2 separate regions of the Homo sapiens genome follow, and region 2 is linked to region 1. The links are contacts of gene promoters, found by promoter capture Hi-C in human tissues and cell types (Jung and others, 2019). All regions are on one chromosome and are shown on one strand. The core of a region is centred on a gene start or on the middle of the fragment in contact, and the rest is flanking DNA. Distances in the headings are between cores, read along the strand shown.

Region 1 (5,852 bases), core at 1,102-3,601:
TCACTCATCAGTTCAGGGACCTCCTCCACAGTCCAGCCCTGGGTCTCGCTGGCTCTGAAATCCCTACTGTTTCTACAGCAGACCTGCCAGTGTCCCTGTCACAAAGCACAGTAGTAACTACAGAAGACATTTGTGTTCCTGAAATGACAGAATCGCACATAAAAAGCTAATTATTATTATTATTTATCAAAAATCTGATAATAAGCACGAAGTGTTAAAAGTACTTTTATCACCATCAAGAGGTCCAGAGAGAGCTCTAACATCTAACACAGCAACTGGAAAGACCACATGCTGAGCTCCACCTTCAGACTGTGCAGTTCCACCACTCAACATCCTCTCACCACTCCAAAAGTTTCAGTGGCTAACCAGCCATTATTGTAAAAATTACAAGAATTGGCCAGGCGAGGTGGCTCACGCCTGTAATCCCAGCACTTTGGGAGGCTGAGGTGGGTGGATCACGAGGTCAGGAGTTCAAGACCGGCCTGACCAACATGGTGAAACCCCATCTCTACTAAAAATACAAAAATTAGCCAGGCATGAGGGTGTGCGCCTGTAATCCCAGCTACTCAGGAGGCTGAGGCAGGAGAATCGCTTGAACCTGGAAGGCAGAGGTTGCAGTGAGCCGAGATCATGCCACTGCACTCCAGCCTGGATGACAGAGCGAGACTCCATTTCAAAAAAAAAAAAAAAAAATTACAAGAATTGGGGGCCGGGCGCGGTGGCTCACGCCTGTAATCCCAGCACTTTGGGAGGCCGAGGTGGGTGGATCACCTGAGGTCAGGAGTTCGAGACCCGCCTGGCCAAGACGGAGAAAACAGTCTCTACTAAAAATACAAAAATTAGCCAGTCGTGATGGCGGGTGCCTATAATTCCAGCAACTCGGCAGGCTGAGGTAAGAGAATCACTTGAACCCAGGAGGTGGAGGTTGCAGTGAGCCAAGATCACACCACTGCACTCTAGCCTGAGCAACAGATTGAGACTCTGTCTTTAAAAACAAACAAACAAACAAACAAAAAAAAACAAGAATTGGGAGGATACATTCAGGGCAACTTCAATCTATCTCTTTGGGGGTGGGGAACAGAGACAAGAATATTGAAGCTGGGTGCCTGGGCATGGTGGCTCCTGTAATCCCAGCACTTTGGGAGGCCAAAGCAGGAGGATCAGTTGAGCCTTGGAGTTCAAGACCAGGCTGGGCAACATACCAAGACCCTGTCTCTACAAAAAAACTACAAAAAAAAAAATTAGCTGGGTGTTGTGTGGCACAACTAACAACTTGGGAGGCTGAGGCAGAAGGATAGCTTGAGCCCAGGAGTTTGAGGTGCAGTGAGTATGATCGCACCACTGCACTAATTATTTTACTTGAGTCCCTCTTAGCAAGTTTTATGTTTATTCCAATTTTACAAATAAGGACATAGACTCAAATAAGTTGGTTAATTAGAGAGAGAGAGGAGGTGGGCACACCCTGGGACAGCATTCACTCCAGACAGCACCTGAGGCTAGGGGGGCTAAAGCCACGCACCCTGAGGACCCTCAGCGGCTCCGGAGTCCCCGTGTTCCCCGGGTGCCGGTCGCGGCCTAATCACACCACAGGGGTTTGTAGGTGCTGGCATCACCTCATCAGTGACGGACCAGGAAGGCTCCTGCAGCCCAGCAGGTCCTGCTCGCCGGTGTCTGCCCTGCCCACCCAGTCTCGTCTCCGGGACCCCAAACGTGACCAAAGGGCACGGCCGTCCTCGTGCGTGGACACGTTCCACCAAGCTTACTCGCGCAGGGCGCGCCAGGGCTGCCCAGCCCTTCAGAATTTTCCCACTGTCTCTGAGGCAGTGACCCGGGGGACCCGGCCGCCTAAGGTCACAACACACGGCAGAGGCCCAGCGGCTCCGCCCGGCGCTGGCGGCCCAGCCCGCGACGAGACCCGGGGCCCCACGGTCCCGCAGGGGCTCCGGAGGCCGGGACCACCGGGCTCCCCGCATCGCCGTGACAACCAGCCCGAACCCGCGGGTCGTCCGCGCTCCCGACCCACCAGCCGGGAGCCGGCCCCGCCCTGGGGTGCCCGCCGCTTACCCCGCGGGACGGTGTACCGAGGCGGCGGCGGGAGGCGGGCGGGCGCCCGGCCGCGGCAGCTCCTCAGTAAGATGGACGCCATGTGCTCGGGCGCGGCGGCCGCTCCGGCCTCCTGCGCTGCCTCCTTCTCCGCGGCGGCCGCGGCTCTTCGCCGTCCCGGCGGCGCTTCAGACCCGGCCCGCGCGGACGGCTGACAGAGGCGGCTGGCCTCGGACGGGAGGCGCTCTCCTCAAGGACCCGGCACCAGCGGCGGCCTTGTCCCGGCACAGACGTCCGGAGGCGCGGGGCGGGGCGGCCAGGCCGCGGCTCCCATTGGGCCCCTCAGCGCCCGCCGCTGGCCAGGTGAGGGGCGGACCGCGCCACCGCGGACTACCGGTTCCGGCGTGCACCGGGACGGCCTGCACGCTGGGGTGCGGACTACCGATCCCGGCGTGCACCGGAGCGGCGGACTACCCTGAGGCGCGGACTACCGGTCCCGGCGTGCACCGGGGCGGCTGGCTCCTGGGGCTCGCTGCATCCTGGTTCCCGTCGTACCGTGGACGCCGGGGCTCGCAGCGTGGCGGCCGCAGGAGCTGAGGGAGTCGGCCGCGCTTGCGCGGGGAGTGTCTTTTCGTCTCCGGGCGGCGGCAGCAGCGCGTGTGTCCGGAACTTTTCTGGGACTAAGTCCTGCACCCACGAGTAGAAAACGGCTCCTGGGAGCTTGGGGCTCCAAGGGCAAGTCAGGGGACGCTGGGGATGGAGGGGCGCCCTCGACGCCCTCGGCCGCGGTCCCTCGCCGGCCCCCCTGCTCTGTGGCTCTGCCCTCGGCGGTCTGCACTCTGGCGCGCGCAGCTCTGAGTGCCTCTTCCCTGCGTACCGGGCGGCGCTCCCCAGATACGGCGCTGCTCGGCGTCGGGAGTCCCCGTCACCACTGGGGGGACGGGAGCGCAGGGTCCCGCCCCGAAGGACAGGGCCATGCCGGCCCCTGGAGGCGAGGGCACTAGGCCGGGTGGCGGCGCAGCCAGCATAGCGGCCCCCCATCCCGGCACACCGCGTCCTCCCGTCTGAGCGGGAGGGGTAGATATGGGTCCTGCGTTGGCGCGGGGGGACCCCTCGTTTCGCTCTGGCCTAAGCAGCCCCTGGGGTCCCGCGCGCCGCAAGAGCGCCAGACTTCCTAACCTGGGCCATACCCTGTCCGCTCCACTTCCCAGTCCAAGAAGGAACAGCCGAAGCCCAGGACGCCAAGGACCTGGCTCGAAGTCTCCAGAATTCCCGCCAGAGCTGGGCTGGGCTCGCGGACCGCTCATGCGCCGTCTCCCAGGAGCCTCCCCCCAGCCCAGTTTAATAGCCGGCCCTGACCAGTCCAGGGGAGAGAGACCGTGCAGCCTCCCAGCAGACCGTGACCTCTGAGCTCCACCTTCCCCTTCCTTCCCTAAGATGAGGATCCCTGAGTTGGGGCAGAGAAAGCAGGCAGGGAGAAAAATGGGGACCTGCGGCGCTGGGGGCCCAGCTGGTGGAGATCTCCAGCTAGGAGATCCCCAGCACAGCACTTGCCCTGCCCTCTGTCTTGTTCAGGGATGTAACCTGCCTCCTCCTGCTTCTCCGCGGCACCTCAGGGCACCGCCTGGGGAGGGTCTTGTAGTGCACACTCAGCATCTCTGTTCCCTGGAGCGCATGGGGTGTGAAACGCCTGATGCCAGCCAGCTCCCCAGTCTTGAGAGGCTGGTTGAATGGCACATCTCCCTAGGAGGCTCCCTCCCCAGGGTCCCCTCTGCCCCTGCTGTCCATGCAGTCGGTCCTCACCCGTCAGGAAAACGTAGCCTGCTTGCCTGGGTGGTTTTCCCCATCAGGAACTGCCAGGTACTGGGCCTGGATGGGCTTGAATTCCCCATCTCAGTGGGAGAAGGGGGCATTGTTTAGTGCAGGGCACTTTGAAGCCGTCTGTAAGTCCCTGTGTCCACACCGGTCAGTGGGCACTGCAGACATCAAATGCAGACAGAGTTTAAGCACAACTAGGCCTGAACCTAGGCCTGTGCTGCCAACAGACATGAAGGGGCCCCTTTTCCACCCATCCCCCAGGAGGCAAGAGGGGGATACAGAAGGATAGTCCTTGCCTCCCCACCCAGGGTTGGACCTGAGCTGGAGTGGACAGTTGGTCAGGGTCAGAAAGAACTGGACTTTTTATGGCCCAGCTGTAGGACTTTTTATGGCTCAGCTGTAGGACTTTTTATGGCCCAGCTGTAGGACTGTATGTCCTAGTCCTGGTCTGGACATTGGTTCTGAGCACCAGATGACCCTGCCCGATGCTGGCTAGGGAGGGTGACCCCGGAGAGGGTGCAAGAAACAGTGCTCCTCTCGTTAATGCTGTGGGGTCCCAGGTGTCCCGGCAAGGCCAGGCAGGAGGTGGTGACTGCCCCATCTGTGCTAGTGCCTGTTTACAGGACTTTGAATGACACTGAAAGAGGAGGGAAGCCCTCCCCGCAGTCTCCACCCTGCCCAAAGTGCTGGGTGTGAGGAAATGTGGAACATACCCTCGCCTGCAGTTGGGATGACCCACCATCCCTGGACCAGAACAAGGAAAGCCTGGCAGCGGAGAGCCAACAGCAGGACTGACACAGGCAGGTGCTGTCTGCGATGCTCGTGCAGCCCAGGCAGGGTGGGATCTTAGATAAATTTTCAACAATTAAAATAGCTGTGATCAGGCGCAGTAACTCACACCTGTAATCCCAGCACTTTGGGAGGCCGAGGCGGGCTGATCACGGGGTCAGGAGATCGAGACCAGCTTGGCCAACATGGTGAAACCCTGTCTACTAAAAATACAAAAATTAGCTGGGCATTATGGTGCATGCCTGTAATCCCAGCTACTCGGGAGGCTGAGGCAGGAGAACTGCTTGAACCAGGGAGTCAGAGGTTACAGTGAGCCAAGATTGTGCCACTGCACTTCAGCCTGGTGACAGAGCGAGACTGTCGCAAAAAAAAAAAAAAAAAATAGGTCAAAAGAAATAAGTAGAAATCTGGCATCCAGCCAGCTGACTGTGCACCCTTAAGGCTGGAATGAGGCCTTCCAGTCCCACATCTCCATATGCAGCAGAACAAGGGCACAGAACCATGGCGCAGTGGTTTAATAGCAAGCACTGTTTTTAGCCTTTTTCTCTTCTTTTTTTTTTTTTGGTTGGGGAAACTTCCTTTTCCTTCTCCCTATGTTCCTCACAAATCACATATAACCTTCCATAGTCACTCGGTGTATATACAAGTGACAGTAGAGAAACAGGGCAGGAAGCCCAGGCAGCACACGGGCCCCAGTTAGGGAGGTTAGGGATCCCGTTAGGGAGGGCGGTTAGGGATCTAGTTAGGGAGGGGGCTAGGGACTAGTCAGGCAGCTTAGGGACCTAGTTGGGGTTGGGACCTAGTTGGGGGGTTTAGGGATCTAGTTAGGGAAGGGGGGCTAGGGATCTAGTTAGGGAGGAAGTTAGGGATCTAGTTAGGGAGCTTAGGGAACCAGTTAGCGAACTAGAGGAAGACTTAGAAGGGTTGTGTGCTGCACTTGACCCATGCTCTGGTGAAAAGCAGCCAGAGTTGCATTTGCCCAGATTGGGGATTTGCTGGGAAGTATGATGAAGGAAGAGAGACAAGGATGTTTGCAAGAGACTATGAGGCTTGTCCCAGGAATTGAAACTGGGGAGAAGGAAAGGGAAGAACAGGAGGGGGCAGTGGGAGACAGCAGAAGATAGCAGGATCACTGGCCTGTGGGCTGAGAGGGGTTTGGAGCCAGGTACCAGAACAAGTAAGCTGACGAAAGTGGGATGCTC
Region 2 (5,385 bases), core at 1,098-3,597, 1.1 Mb after region 1:
AATATTATATTAATACTATATTAATATTATAATAATATATTAATATTTTAATAATATATTAATATTATAATAATATATTAATATACTAATATAATAATATATTAATATGCTATTACAATAATATATTAATATGCTAATATTATAATAATATATTAATATATTAATATTGTTAGTATATTAATATATAGTAACTATATTAATAATATAGTTAGTATATTAATATATAGTAACTATATTAATATAGTTACTGATTTAAGAACTACATTAATATAACTTATTTTATAAATTATTTCAGAAATAAGGAAACTGAGGCACAGCTATAAAGCAATGTCCTGAGACTGGCACCTGGGGGCTGCCCTCTTCCTGCCAGACTGAGTGCCTCAGAGTGCTACAACTGACCAGAGGGGAGAAGCCAACTGAGGCAGCCTGTTTACTTCTAAGGGACTAACCCACATGAAAAGACCCAGGCCTCCTGCGCCGGCCTCACGGCCCCTACACGCGTTATCAAGCTTGGAGTCAACTGGACGACCTGCTGTCCCTCAGACAGCTGTGAGTGCCACACTTCACCATACCGGGACAATGTGCCTTTGCATGTGTGTCCTCTGCCCACCCTGGGCCCATGAACAGCTCACTCCCCTTGCAAAACTTGACTGTAACTCCCTCTAGAAGAATTTTTGGACTTTCCTAACTATTACACTTTTTCCTGACCGGGATCTCCTAAGGCACTCAGGTTCCATCTTTGATTTCTTCAAATATTTGTGTTTCTTCCAAGGGCCAAGCATTGGAGATCCAAAAAGGAGCAGCAATTCCCGTCCCCGTCCCAGGCCTTCAGCACAGGGCAGGGAGGTGGATCTGCTCAATACCAGAAGTTTGAGCAACCTGTCCTATTTGGGTTACATAGCTTGGGTGGTGAACCTGAGCTGGCCCTTTAGAGACTTTCGGAGGTAAGGCAGACCTTTTGGACAAACTGAGTTGCAAGAGGCGAAGCAAGGACAACAGCCAGACTGTGCGGGACTCGAACGACAAGCCAAGAAGGTTAAGAATAACAGTATTTAGAGAACACTTGCTGTGTGCTCTATGTGCTATCTTACTTAATTCTCACAAACCACCACGAGGGGTAGGATGTATACTATCATCTCTACTTTTGAAATGAGAAAACTGAGGCTTCAGTGGTGAAGACAAATGTGTCTCTTCTAGGGAACCACACTACCTTATTCTCCCACCCCGGCCCGGGGGTGTGTAATGAGGGACTCCTATCGAAGTCAGCTGTAAGTCTATCTTGCCTATTCATTATACAGGCTGTCGTCTTCGCGCAGTAAGGATAATATGTGTTTTGATTCAAAGACCATCCAGCTTGCACACTGTGATGAACAGAGATCAGGAGCTCATGAAGGCAAGGGCAAGTCTTATTTACCTTTATCTCCCCGAACCTAGAAGCGAGGTCAAACAGAAGCGCTCGGGGTAGCAAGAAGGCTTTGTAGATATTGAAATGTGAATGCATGCCCAGCCCTTACCAGGTGCGTGACCTTAGGAAATGCACTTGTCCTTTCTGTGCCTTAATTTTTTCACCAACCTGCTAATGTATGTTCCTCAGTGAAAATTTAAAAAAAAAAAAGTTAAAAAAACTAGGAAGCAATGAGTTTCCATAGAGTTACTTCCCAAGGAACAAGGTTACGCGCTTCGGGAGAGAGCCGATGAAACATCAAACGCAGCATCCTACACAGCCCCTATCCACCGTCCCCAAACCTGCAGAGCTCAAAGTAAACGCGGAAGGGTTAACAAGCAGCTTGGTCCAGGGCGCCGCCCGAAGTGACTGACTCGGCCTGACCCGGTTGGAGGAGTCGCCGAAATAACACGAGTGCAGGGTCTCCAAGACGGCGAGAGTTTCCAGGTCACTCCAGCTCAGAGAACAGCAGAGGCTTTCGGACTATCAAGTCAGTGCCGTGTGCCTGTCACGGCCTGTGCCGCTCAACGAGGAAACCGACGCACCGAGAAGGACGCAGCCGGCCGAGAGCAGCGTGGGGTCCAGATCCTGCCTTCCGGCTCCCCGTGCGCCCCCCGCTTACCTTCCTGAGGGCCCGTGCGCGAGACACCCCGGGCAGTCCCACGTCGTGGCGCGTCTTCCGGCCCAGGATCTGGAACTTCTGCCTGTTAACTTTCACCTCGAACGGATTGGAGTTGGCCTTCGCCGGGCCCCCTCGCGCTCCCGCCGGCGCCCCGGAGGCCTTCCTTCGCGCCCCGACCTTCTTCGCCTTCGCCATGGCGCGCGCCCCGCTGCGCCCAAGGGCCCGAGACCCGAAGAGAGACAGGCGCGCGCTACCCTAAGACACGTGCCGGGCCGCGGAACCGCTTCCTCGTCTCGCGAGAACAGCGCAGCACCTCCGACTCGCGAGAAGTAAACACCGCGCCCGCAGGCTCGGCTTACTCGCCGATAGGCTCAGCGACTACAACTCCCAGCAGGCCACGCGCCGCGGCCCGCCGTGTACTCTTGGCGCAGGGCCTTCTGGGAGCTGTAGTGCCCCGGCCGCGGCGGCGAGGGGCGCTCCCTCTTCAGCTAAGCCGTTAGCGCCGAGCCCGCCCGGGAGCGGGTCGCCGGCCGCGGCGGGCGCCCCTGCCAGTGAGCCCCTGTCCGAAGTGAGCCACGGCATTGACTCGGGGCTGCCCGGGGGCAGGGCACTGAGGAGGGAGTTGCGCGCGCGAGGCGAGGGCGATGGGGCCAAGAAGAACCGGGGCGATAGCGCGGCAGCGGTGACAGCTGGGACCCGCCGCGGTCGGGCTGCCCCCTCCCCTCGCCCCGACCGCTCCCCTGCTGGTGAGGGCCTGCGGAGGCGGCGGCGGCGGCGCCCTTGGTGGCAGTGGTGGCGGCGGAGCAGCCTCCCGGGATCGTGTCCGGAGCTCGAGGAGAGGGTGGTGCCCGGCGAGCTATGCACGGGGGCGGCGGCGTCTCCTCCTGTTCCGCCTCCTCAGTCTCCTCGGTCTCGCAGAATCCGCCGGCGGCGGCGGCGCCAGGACATGGAGCTCGAGAACATCGTGGCCAACTCGCTGCTGCTGAAAGCGCGTCAAGGTGGGTGCGCGGCAGGCGCCCCCGACCCCCCCCCCAGAGAACCCCGAATCCCGGGGAACCCTGGCCCCCCTGAAGGAACCCGACATCCCCGGAGAACCCCGATTTCCCTGGAGAGCCCCGACACCTCCCACTGGGGGAACCCAGATCTGCACGGAGCCGGAGCCGGGGTCTGTGCAGTGTGGTCAGGCTGCCCGGGCCAGGTCCCAGTCCCCATCTCCTGGCCCAGATGAGAGAAGTCTGCGCTTTGCTCTTCTTAGTCTTGCCCTGTGTCCTTGTCCTGTCCTCTCGGTGTGACCTCGGTGACAGTGTTGCTTCAGGATGCGGCAGGCAGTGTCCTGCTTGTGTTGGACAACCTGTCCCACCAAAAAAGAACGGCGTCTTTATGGTCTTAAGGGGGACAAAGAATAGCAGCCTGGGAACTACTCTGGGCGAGAACCTTCCGATAATGATTGTAGGGCAATGTTATTTTTAACATAGCTGCTTGGTTTTGAGGTTTGATCTGAGGCTCTATGGTGTGTCAAGTGTGCTTTAGCACGACGTGGTCACAGATGGACAAGTTGGCAAAAATTCAGCCTTTTATCATTATTAAAGTGAGGCAGAAATTTAAAAATAGTAATAAGTACTGCATTCATTCACTCCAAGAAAAGAAAAAGCCAAGGCCCAGAATGTGGCAAGGCAAGGGTTAAAAAGAAAAGAAGAACAAGTTTTCTTTTGCTTAGCAAGCTCACTTTAAGGACAGTTATAAGATAACGCTGTTCTGTTTGAGAAGTCGAATCCAAAGGAATAGGCTCCAGACACCCCCCTTCCAGAGCAGGGGTGAAGAAAAAAAAAAAAGAGGACAAATATCTGTGTTTAGCCAGTTCTTGGTTTTTTCTTTCAACGCAGCTACAAGGCCACCAGCTATGCAAGGCCACAAGTTATGCCAAGTCATCAGTTATGCTATAGATTATGTGACCTGTCATTATATGATTAACTGCCTTTGTTTTGCTTCTGTAAGTTTGCTTATAAAAATCCTGCTTAGTCTTTGTTCAAGGCTCAGCTTTTTGGATGTGAATCCACTGAGCTGGTGCGTACCTTAACATAAATATCCTCCTGTTTTCACCCATGCTGGTCTCTCTAGTCCTCTGCATCCCGCCACAAAAGCATCAGTTGGTCCAGCCCTTCAGCGGGAGACCCCCACAATCCTCTGTGCAATCCTCTGTCTCGGACCTCATGTCTCCCTTGCCTGCGTCTCAAGAGAGCTGGCGACAGAGCCTCGGACCTCAAGTCCCTGTGCTAGCCACGGTAGTTCTTCACACCCCGTCACTCTTACGGAATTGCTGATTTCCTCTATTTCCTTGCGTGATGGAGCAGCTCTGCTCGGACTGTGCTCCAGGACAGTGTAAATGCCGACTGAAGATGCCACAGCAGCCGGCGATGCATATTTAAAGGACAGTCTGGAGCCGAAGGTGGCGGCCACGCTTGTAGTCCCAGCTACTCTGGAAGCTGAGGTGGAAGGCTCACTTGGGCCCAGGAGAGTCCAGCCTGGGCAAAACACAGCAAGACCATCTCTTTAAAAAAGTCTAAAACAAAGACTTCATCTTCTCAGTATTTTTGTGCACCAACTCACACTATTTTGAATAGAAGAACTGAGAATGGGTGGGAAGAGAATGGGATCTTTTTCCCTTAAGATAATCAGGGAGTCCCAGAGCAGTATGCGTTCTCAGCAGCCATTTTCAGTGGAGCATTTGACTGTGCCTCTTATCCCTGACTGTGAACTCCAAATAGGTCATGGAAAATAATCATCCTTAGTGGAAGTCAGATTGAAGCTAAGCCAGTTTTCTTTTTACACTACCTTCCTATCTGCATGTAATTTACAAAAAGGAACTATACCAAGCCGCCTTCCTTATAATGCTGCAGAGATTAGATAATGAGATAAATACAAGTGCTCTATAAATGCTAAATAACATAAAACCAGATTCTGTCACAAAACCTAAGACCACAGTGATAGTTTGAAAAATGAAAGTTTTGGCCGGGCACGGTGGCTCACAGCTGTAATCCCAGCACTTTTGGAGGCCGAGGCGGGCGGATCACAAGGTCAGGAGATTGAGACCATCCTGGCTAACATGGTGAAACCCCGTCTCTACTAAAAATACAAAAATTAGCCGGGCGTGGTGGCGGGCGCCTGTAGTCCCAGCTACATGGGAGGCTGAGGCAGGAGAATGGCGTGAACCCTGGAGGCAGAGCTTGCAGTGAGCCGAGATCGCGCCACGGCACTCCAGCCTGGGTGACAGAGCGAGACTCCGTCTCGAAAAAAAAAAAAAAGAAAGTTTTAATTTTTT

What was found. The method cuts DNA at HindIII sites, captures the fragments that hold promoters and counts their contacts. A contact is called where the count stands out against the background at its distance.
Region 2: a contact is called between the fragment with the promoter of NOP14 here and the fragment with the promoter of LETM1 in region 1, in 2 of the 25 tissues and cell types used here (dorsolateral prefrontal cortex and spleen).

The regions. Positions count from the first base shown.
Region 1 is chr4:1,853,805-1,859,656 of GRCh38, forward strand. LETM1 (leucine zipper and EF-hand containing transmembrane protein 1) reads right to left here and starts at 2,352. Exons shown (of 14, transcript NM_012318.3): 1 at 2,065-2,352. The coding sequence starts at 2,146. RefSeq lists silencers at 818-994, 1,789-1,978, 1,989-2,548, 2,949-3,168 and enhancers at 1,560-2,061, 2,699-2,768, 3,438-4,233. The HindIII fragment of the contact is 14,961 bases long and covers 1-5,852 here.
Region 2 is chr4:2,961,059-2,966,443 of GRCh38, forward strand. NOP14 (NOP14 nucleolar protein) reads right to left here and starts at 2,348. Exons shown (of 18, transcript NM_001291978.2): 1 at 2,067-2,348. The coding sequence starts at 2,261. It overlaps GRK4 (G protein-coupled receptor kinase 4), which reads left to right and starts at 2,513. Exons shown (of 16, transcript NM_182982.3): 1 at 2,513-3,064. The coding sequence starts at 3,013. RefSeq lists enhancers at 906-975, 2,006-2,539, 2,540-3,073 and silencers at 2,536-2,965, 3,136-3,185. The HindIII fragment of the contact is 12,457 bases long and covers 1-5,385 here.